Regions from separate parts of the Homo sapiens genome. Here region 2 is linked to region 1. Evidence: promoter capture Hi-C in 16 types of primary human blood cells and fetal thymus (Javierre and others, 2016). All regions are on one chromosome and are shown on one strand. Each heading gives the region's core, a stretch centred on a gene start or on the middle of the fragment in contact. The rest is flanking DNA. Distances are from core to core; before and after follow the strand shown. Region 1 holds the start of RPTOR (regulatory associated protein of MTOR complex 1). Region 2 has its middle 25 kb from the start of MIR4730.

Region 1 (4,367 bases), core at 483-2,982:
AGTACTACCCTTTTGCTTTTGAGGCCAGGAAATAGATGGGTGTTTTATGAAGGACAAATCCAACAAAATTCGGCTGTTTTCTTTCCTACCAGCTGCTTGTGAGTCACTCTCCACACTCCAAACACCATGCGGACACCCTAAAACCTGCACCCAAGTCTCGACGCCTCATACCCTAACTCACGATTAAAGAAATCCTGTTTCCAAGTTACAGCAACAGGACACTACATAAAAGGAGGAAAATCTAGCTTCAAGAGAAATTGTTTAGAAGACTAGAATGAAGTTCAGTGTAACTTTATAATAACTTTGCACTAATTTGTTACTAGTTGAACATTTTCCAGTAATCTCATTTCCTAGCATAGTATATCAGACTTCTGCACTTCACCCAGCTTGGATATTTTAAAAAGTAGACTAATCATGTGGGTATAAAGATTATATCGCACGTTGTCCTTCCTCTAAGTGTTTACAGAACTAAGTAGTATGCCAAAGAGCATGTAAATACTCGCAATGCTCTATTTTCAAATTTGCTTAACTTTTATTATCTGAATTAGAACTTAGTTGGAATTGAATTAACACTACCCAGTGAATAATGACTAACCAAAACAGCATTTTCCATTTTCAACCAAAAACTGCAGTCTGAAATGGCTTTTGCTTTCTAGTTGACTTACAACGTGTGGCTAGGGGGAAATGTCGGCGCTTTCCCAAGGACACTTTTCGGGCTGTAAACTTTCTTTGTTGGGGAAACTACCAAGTTCAAGGGGTGCCTTCAGAATCCACTTACCCGATCCTTCATCCTCCAGCTCTGAGCTAAGGATTTGGAGCCTTCAATTTTCTCACAGTGCCTCTTTTTCATAAAAGCCAAAGGTAGGTTCCAGTCTGTAAGATCAGCCTCATCTTCCTCCCCCAGGCCCAGAAGAGGCGATTGCAGCATTTCGGACTCCATCAGTGGGGGAGGGGGTGGGGGAGTCCTTGGCAGCAAGCGCTCGAGAACCTCCAGCCTTAAAAACTAGCGTGTACCAGAATTGGTGAAATAAGAAACAAAAACGGGAAATCGAAAACCAAATGGATAAAGAGTGCGGAGACCCTTACTCAGGCAAAAGTCTGAGATCCTTATCTCTAACTCTGAGCGGGAAGTGGGGAGGTGGGGGCCGCTAGGAAATGGGGCAGCCCAAGAAGCTCCGCAGACACACACCACCCCAGGTCCCAAGCCACTGGCTGCTCCTGAGGCTGTACGTTTCCAGAGGGGCTGCGAGGGGAGCTGCCAAAAGCGTAAGAGACTTCAGGCCTCACGATGACCCTGCTCTCGGCCTCCACCGCCTCAGCAGTTCCGAAGACAGGCAGGCCGCTCTTGGTGCCGGTTCGCCCACTGGGCCGACTGGGCTGAGGTCTCCGGCCAAGGGATCGGGTTCAAAGGGCCCTGGGTCTCCTCCAGCCACTCTCAGCCCTGCGGGTCCCGCACTCGTCTGAGCTGCTGCAACCAGAGCCACGACCGGCCCATCGTGCTCGCCTGCACCCGGTTCCTCAACCTCAGGTCCGCGCGGCCTGGCTGGTCCTGGCCTTCAGCCCCGAGGCTCTCTCCTGCCTGAGAACGAGTCCTGAGAAACGGGCGACACGGAACCACGGAGGAAAGGGACAATGTGGGCTTATTGGGTCATGGGAGCTTTGCCCTCTGGTTTGGAGCTACAGTGAAACTCATCTCATCAGCCCATCAAGGAGGACGCCATATTGCCAGGACCCAGAATGCACCGCGGCCTACGGCGTGGCCGACAGACCAAACCTCCTCAGAGCGGTCTCTCCCCGCCACCCAGCATGCAGCGAAGGAGAAAGAGTCCCCGACCCCGTTACCTCGGTTACCATAATTCCGTTTTCCCCAGTTAATCGCCATTTGTTCAGTAGAGGCGTGTTATTAAAGTCAATCCTACAAATGAAACTGTCGGTTTAATTTATTTTTTCAAAAACATTGTCATTATAAATGAAGTTACATGCTCCTGAAATTAAAGGAATCAACCGCCTTGTTTCTTCCAGATTTTGAAAAAGCGGCAAAAGCTTCACTGATAATATTAGAAAATATTAAAAAGCACTGATAATATTAGAAAATATAGTACTTTTTTTTTTGGAGTGTAGTGTCCTCCACAGTGTCAATCAGATTTTCTCTTTAATTTTTTCATAGAGAACCAAGTGAAAGGCCGGGCGCCGTGGCTCACGCCTGTAATCCCAGCACTTTGGGAGGCCGAAGCGGGCAGATCACGAGGTCAAGAGATCGAGACCAGCCTGGCCAACATGGTGAAACCCCGTCCCTACTAAAAATACACAAATTAGCTGGGCGTGGTGGTGCGCGCCTGTAATCCCAGCTACTCAGGAGGCTGAGGCAGGAGAATTGCTTGAACCCGGGAGGCGGAGGTTGCAGTGGGCCAAGATCGTGCCACTGCACTCCAGCCTGGGAGACAGAGCAAGACTCTTCAGATGAAGAAGGGTCTGAAGCAACAGAAGAAGAGTCTGGAGCAAGATTCGATGAAAAAAAATTTCATCTAATACAATTTTTTGTTTAATCTGTTTCGTTTTCTGAGCAGTTTATCCTTTTTAAATTTTTTTCCCACTTCTTGGTAGCAGTAGTTTATTCTTATTTTGATATAGCTTCACGTGCAGACATCTAAAACTACATGTCTGTGCGTGGAGGCAAGCCTCTTGTGTGACTCTCTTTTTCAATTCAGGAAATTTGGCTCATTTACAATGTATAGAGAACTGTGTAAGGTGGACTATAAAACCAAATGTAGGCAGGGCACCGTGGCTCACGCCTATAATCCTAGCCCTTTGGGAAGCCGAGGAGGGTGGATCACGAGTTCAGGAGTTCGAGACCAGCCTGGCCAACATGGTGAAACGCCGTCTCTAATAAAAATACAAAAATTAGCTGGGCGTGGTGGCGTGCGTCTGTAGTCTCAGCTGCTCGGGAGGCTGAGGCAGGAGAAGAGCTGGAACCTGGGAGGCAGAGGTTGCAGTGAGCCGAGATTACACCACTGCATTCCAGCCTGGGTGACAGAGTGAGATTCCATCTCAAAAATAAATAAATAAATAAATAAATAAATAAGAATAAAACGAGGCCAGGCGTGGTGGTGCACGCCTGTAATCCCAGCACTTTGGGAGGCTGAGGTGGGTGGATCATGAGGTCAGGAGTTCAAGACCATCCTGGCCAAGATGGTCTTGATCTCTCAGGATGGTTTTCCGGGGCTTAGACACATGTGGCCATCCATATCAAAATCTTGATGGCATTTGTGTTCCTTTCAAAATGAGAATGAAGAATACAATCCCAGACCTTTCTCACCCAGCACAAAGCAAGCCTTTAATAAAGGCTACAGGATTAAATCATTGTCATTCCGCACATTCGTTTGGTTATTACACCCCATGGAGCCAATTCTCCTATTGAAACTCAGGGCACCCTCTCTGTTGGCAGAGACTATCCTCACAGTTACCAGCAGAGGCTTCAGGGATGCAGGGTCTTAGGAAGACCCCGTTCTCATCTGAAGGCAACAAAATCACTCCTGTCCTCTGCCTTGTCACCTTGCTCCCCACCTCCGGTGGCTGTAGACAGCTGCATTCCAGCAGCTCTTGCAGGAAGTCACAGTTACAGAAAAGCAGCAACGCTAAACCCATTCATCCCTAACTAGCTCTGTGACCTGGGAAAGCCCACTGAATCTGTGTGAGACTCAGTTTCCTCACCTATAACGTGTGTGACCTTGGGAAATCCATTTTTCGTATCTGAAATTCTAAACGAAGGTGTCAGTGAGCACGTTGAAGTCCAAACCCACCAGGTGGTCAGAATCGCCCAGGAAACTAAAATTCAGGATGCCCAGCTTCCAACCCAGAGCCCCAGATCGGGGAGCAGGGAGACCGGGATTCAGAATCTGCATTTTTTTTTTTTTGCAGTTTTTACAGTTTTATTTAAACACAAAACATGCACATGAGCTGTCTGCTCGTTTTCTTCACTGCGCAGACTGGCATGGGGGTCAGTGACTCTGATGGCCAGCTGGGCGGCTCTTTCTGTGGTGGCTTCGCGGTTCCTGGAGGAAACACTGTGAGCGATCTCAGCGCAGTAAGAAGTGTTGTACATCAGCAGCACTTCCAGCTCCTTGACGTTGTAGACTGAACTTCCAGAAGCCAGTGGGCAGCGTGTGCTTTGTTTTTTTGTTGCTCCCATAACCAATGTTGGGCATCAAGATCTGGCCCTTGAACCTTCTACCAACCCTGTTGTCAATACCTCTGGGTTTCTGCCAGTTACGCTTAATCGTGACACATCGGTCTGACTGGTGCCGGATGAACTTCTTGGTTCTCTTTTTGATGATCTTGGGCTTCACAGGGGGTCTGAGGGCGGCCAT
Region 2 (4,422 bases), core at 587-3,086, 100 kb after region 1:
GGCCCCTGGCCGGGGCCAGCTGCCCCAGCTTGCTCAGCCTCAGTCTCCTTTTCTGTCTAGTGGGCATAAGGGTGGCTCTTAGCATTCTTGTGCCAATTACAGAAGAGCTGAGTTCTCAGAGCAGCCTCTGGCACAGGACAGGGACTGAGCACAGACAACTTTGCTCTGTTTACTGCCATCATGAAAGAAAAGCCCCCTGAGGCCGGGTGGGCACCCCTCTCCTGGAGCAGGGATGCTGCAGGGTTTGTCCGTGGGGTCGTCTTCTCTGCTCAAGGCCCTCCTGATGCCCCAACAAATCGGCTTCCAAGGCTGTTGGTGGCCTTGGGCTGTCTCCTTGCCAACTCTCCCACACTCCCTCCTTCCTCGGATCCCAGTACTCCTGAGGGGTCTTGGATACAGTGTGATGGGCTTGGGGGGCAGCAGGGGCAGGGCAGGATCTTCTACCCTGGCCAGCATCCTGCCCAGCCTGGCAGGTCCCCTCACCGTGGGGCTCCTGCTGTGGCCAGGCAGGGACTGGGGAAAGCTGGCAAACTCCGAAGTGGCCTCACTTAACACACAGCATGGCCCCAGCCTTTCTGGGAGCCACAGCCTTGGAGCAAGGGGCGGAGGTGTAGCCCACGTGCCCCGGATCAGTCTGGCAGGGTGTGCTGGTGTCCCCTGGCAGGAGGCCCCTGCAGATGGCAGGCATCTGTGTGCGGAGGACGCCTTCATCCTGCCAAGGCACAGGGCTCCGGAGCGGGAAGGCACCCTCTAGACCATCCACACACACTCCTGGGGCCCGAGGCCTGCAGAAGGAAGGGACTTGCCCAGGGCCACCTGGCCAGGGGTGACAGGTCTCCCAGCCCTGATCAGGACCTCTAAGGCTCTGCATCCTCCGAGGCTGAGCCCAGATCCCCTGAGCCCCTGGCCCAGGAACGGGCTGCATGGGCCTCTCCCCAACCCTGGAGCCCATGTGATCCCAGCCCCCCTCCCTCTGATGGCTCCCGGCTCCCCCACCGGCGGGTGCCTGCCTCTCCCGCCCCCGCGCTCCCGGCGGGGAGGGGTTCCTATGGCACCCCTTCCCCCGCACACACTTAGCTCACTGGCAGCCCATCTGCCCCGAGACGGCGGCAGCAGATGCTTGGATGCACAGTGGTGCCTGCAACTTGGTCGGCCCAGTGCCTGTGGCGGGTGTGCACGCTGCCAGCCAAGGTGGGGGCCTGGGCCCTGAAACACCCACCCAGCTGGGGCAGAGGCCCCTCGTCCAAGGCCAGGCTATAGACAGATTAGGACACCCAGGTGCCTGCCAGTGCTGGGGACAGGGTGTCGGCAGAGCTGGAGTCAGAGCCGCCCCTGCAGCCCCTCCCCACCAGCATCCCCAGCCAGCGCTCCTGGGAGGGAACTGATGGATGGGCCACTCTCTAGCGGGCTGCACCCTCGCCTCCCTGACTCCCTGGGGAAGGCCCAAAGCGTGCAGATTCTGCTCCTAGGCCCCAGCCACAAGGAGGAGGCTGATGGGTGCCACGGACACACCCCACAGGGGCTGCCACTGCCCGAAGTGCATGCCAAGGTTTGTGGCAGAGGGTCTGGAGCTTCCCAGCAGCACAGAGGGTTAGACCCTCAGCTGGGGCTCAGGGGACAGGCCCCTTACCCTTAGCCTGCCTGAGCACCTCAGCCTCTGGTACCCCAGGCCCACCCTCCAGGTTCTGCTTAGCGCCCTTCCTCTCTCTCCTGACTTCTCACTCCCCCGAATGGGGGTGGGGGGCAGAGCTGGGTGCTAGGAGGTGGTGGCCATGGCCCCTGGATGCACATGGCCAGTGGGTGGACAGGCCTGGTTTCCATGGCAGCAGCCTCCAGCCCTGGGTCGGGAGAGGAGTGTGCTGAGACCCCCAGAGCCTGGCCTTTGGCCAGCCTCTCCCCACGCCCTCCCCACGCCCTCCCCTGCAGCCCTCCCCACTCCCTCCCCACGCCCCCCCACCCCCCCACGCCCTCCCCTGCCGCAGGAGCAGGGCTTTGTCATGCCTGGGTCCCCAGCTGGGCACAGGAGGGTGAGCCCAGCATGGGGCAGGGGCCTAGGGGGCCATGCACTGGTGGCTGCAGTGCCCCCACTGATATGGGGGTGGTGCCACCTCCAATAAAACAGAAGAGTTTGGCTAAGCCTGGAGCCCTGGGGACTTGGGCTTGACACTGGGGGGAACGTCCTGATTCCGGAAAGAATGAGAGCATCTCTGGGATCTGCTCCCAGGGCTGTTCACAGCCTCCAGCCCAGCGTCCTGGGTAAGAGGTGTGGGGAGGCAAAAGCGGCCTCAAGACAGGAGAGGCACGGCCTGCGGGGCGGAATGAGGGGGCCAGCTCGCCTCCTTAGGACCCCAGTAGCCGAGCCCCCAGGAGCGTCTGAAAGCCGCAGACTCCCAAGGATCGGGCAGCCCCCCTCCTCCCGGCACCCCCGCGGTGTGAGCTGCAGACACACAGGCACACCCGCACACATGCGCACGCCCCCGGGCCGCCTCTGCTCCCCTCGCGACTTGCGTTTGTTTTGCTCCGGCAGGGCTGGAATGGGGACACGCTGCACTCTCGCAATTGGCAGTTTCCTCCAAGCCCCCCGTGGAGGTGCCATATGTCCGCATCATGAATAGGCTTGAGGCTCCGTGCCATGGCCTGGGGGGCTGGGAAGAGGCAGCTGCCAATCACCCCCAAGTAGGCAAGGGGAGGGGGCTACCAGAGGGGCGGGGTGGGGGCACAGGCAAAGGCCAGGGGACAGGGTAGGGCCAGGGCTTCGTCACTGGTTCTCACAAGGGTGGGACACATCGCAGGTGACCCAAGGGCCTTTGCTGAAAACAAAGCAAAACCCAAAAAGTCCTGGGCTTTGACTTTGATAAGTGACCAAAGTCCCCGACCCTGCCACTCGGCCTCGGGCCCGTCCGTGTGCCGGCCGTCAGCCCAAGCCACCTCCCTCCTCCAGGACAGCCCAAGCCACCTCCTCCAGGATGCCTCCCTCCTCCCTGCGCCTCTGCTCCGGCATGTGCACCCTGGGAGCCTTCACCAGTGAGGTGGGTCCAAGGCCTCTCTTGTAGGGAGGAGAAGGAGGAACCAGGTTCAGCCAGCACCAAGTGGGGGCCACAGTGTTAGTTCCCACAACACTCCCAGAACTGGGGGTTATTATCCCCATTTTATAGATAAGAAAACAGAGGCCCGGCGAGGTTTTACTAAACTGTTTCAAGGTCTCCCAGCACAGCGACGGCAGAGCCAGATTCTGCTCAGGTCCGGACAGTGCACAGTCAATGGTCCCTTGCCCAAGCCTGGAGCAGCCCCGTCCCCTGCTGTGCCTGGGCACCCTCTGCCTGGTGGCCACCCACCCTGCCCCTTGTCTCAGGGACCTGGCTTCTCCTCCTCCACCTCCCAGCTCCGTGATGCACTCTGTCCTGCCCCCACCCCCCAACCCCCACTTAGAATGAACTCTTCTCTCCTCCTCCCAGCTCTGTGATGCTGTCACAGAGTCTCTCTGTGTCTCTCTGTCCCCCGCCCCTTAGAATGAACTCTTCTCCCAGCTCTGTGATGCTCTGTCCCCCACCTTAGAATGAACTCTTCTCTCCTCCTCCTGGCTCTGAGACACTCTGTCACCCTCTCTTAAAATGAACTCTTCTCCCAGCTCTGTGATGCTGTCCCCTCCTTACCGCCTTAAAATGAATTCTTCTCTCCTCCCAGCTCTATGATGTTCTGTGCCCCCCACTTTTAGAACAAACTCTTCTCTCCTCCTCCCAGCTCTGTGATGCTTTGTCCCCCCGTTACCCCCTTAGAATGAACTCTTCTCCCAGCTCTGTGATGCTGTCCCCCGCCCACCCCCTTAAAATGAACTCTTCTCTCCTCCCAGCTATGATGCTCTCTCTGTCCCCCCACCACCTTTAGAATGAACTCTTCTTTCCTCCCTGTCCTGAGGATGCTGTTACCCATCTTGCTGACTGCAGAGACCACACAAGACAGGGACACCTGTCTGCAGTCTGCACGTGTGTCCCTCCCTAACCTCAGCCCTCAGTCACCTCTCCCATCCGTGCCTGGTCCAGGTCTGACATGCAGGTGACTGTGGAATGAATGAATGAATGGACAGAGACAGGTACAGGCAAGAGTGGTGCGCCGAGCACGCGAGGCATGACTGCAGAAGCTGCCACCAGTGTAGCCGCAGCCGGTGTCACACCGTCCCTGGGGGGGTGGAGGAACTGCCCTGCTCTGGGCTCCACAGGCCCTTTCTCTCATTCCTGGCCCTGCTGGACGCAGCGACGGTGGGTTGGATGAACTGCCCTGGGTTAATTGGCTCTCTCTTCCTGCCAGCATGATGGATCCTGCTTGACATTTCCCCAGATAGTTAATTGATAACCAAGTAATTTGTCATGGAGACCTCATTATATGCCAACTGGGTCCCCTAAGCCGTTAGCGTCTGTGCCCCAG

The links. Contacts are between HindIII fragments. The CHiCAGO score rates a contact against its expected background, and 5 or more counts as called.
Region 2: a contact is called between a fragment that was not itself captured here and the fragment with the promoter of RPTOR in region 1, in 1 of 17 cell types (endothelial precursors). The highest score is 5.0, in endothelial precursors.

The regions. Positions count from the first base shown.
Region 1 is chr17:80,542,203-80,546,569 of GRCh38, reverse strand. It overlaps RPTOR (regulatory associated protein of MTOR complex 1), which reads right to left and starts at 1,732. Exons shown (of 34, transcript NM_020761.3): 1 at 779-1,732. The coding sequence starts at 940. It also overlaps the pseudogene RPL32P31. RefSeq lists enhancers at 385-1,211, 1,139-1,238, 1,519-1,878, 1,212-2,038. The HindIII fragment of the contact is 2,750 bases long and covers 1-2,045 here.
Region 2 is chr17:80,442,170-80,446,591 of GRCh38, reverse strand. No RefSeq gene overlaps it. Among named protein-coding and RNA genes, the nearest start is that of MIR4730, 25 kb to the right of the region's middle. RefSeq lists an enhancer at 179-961. The HindIII fragment of the contact is 5,416 bases long and covers 1-4,422 here.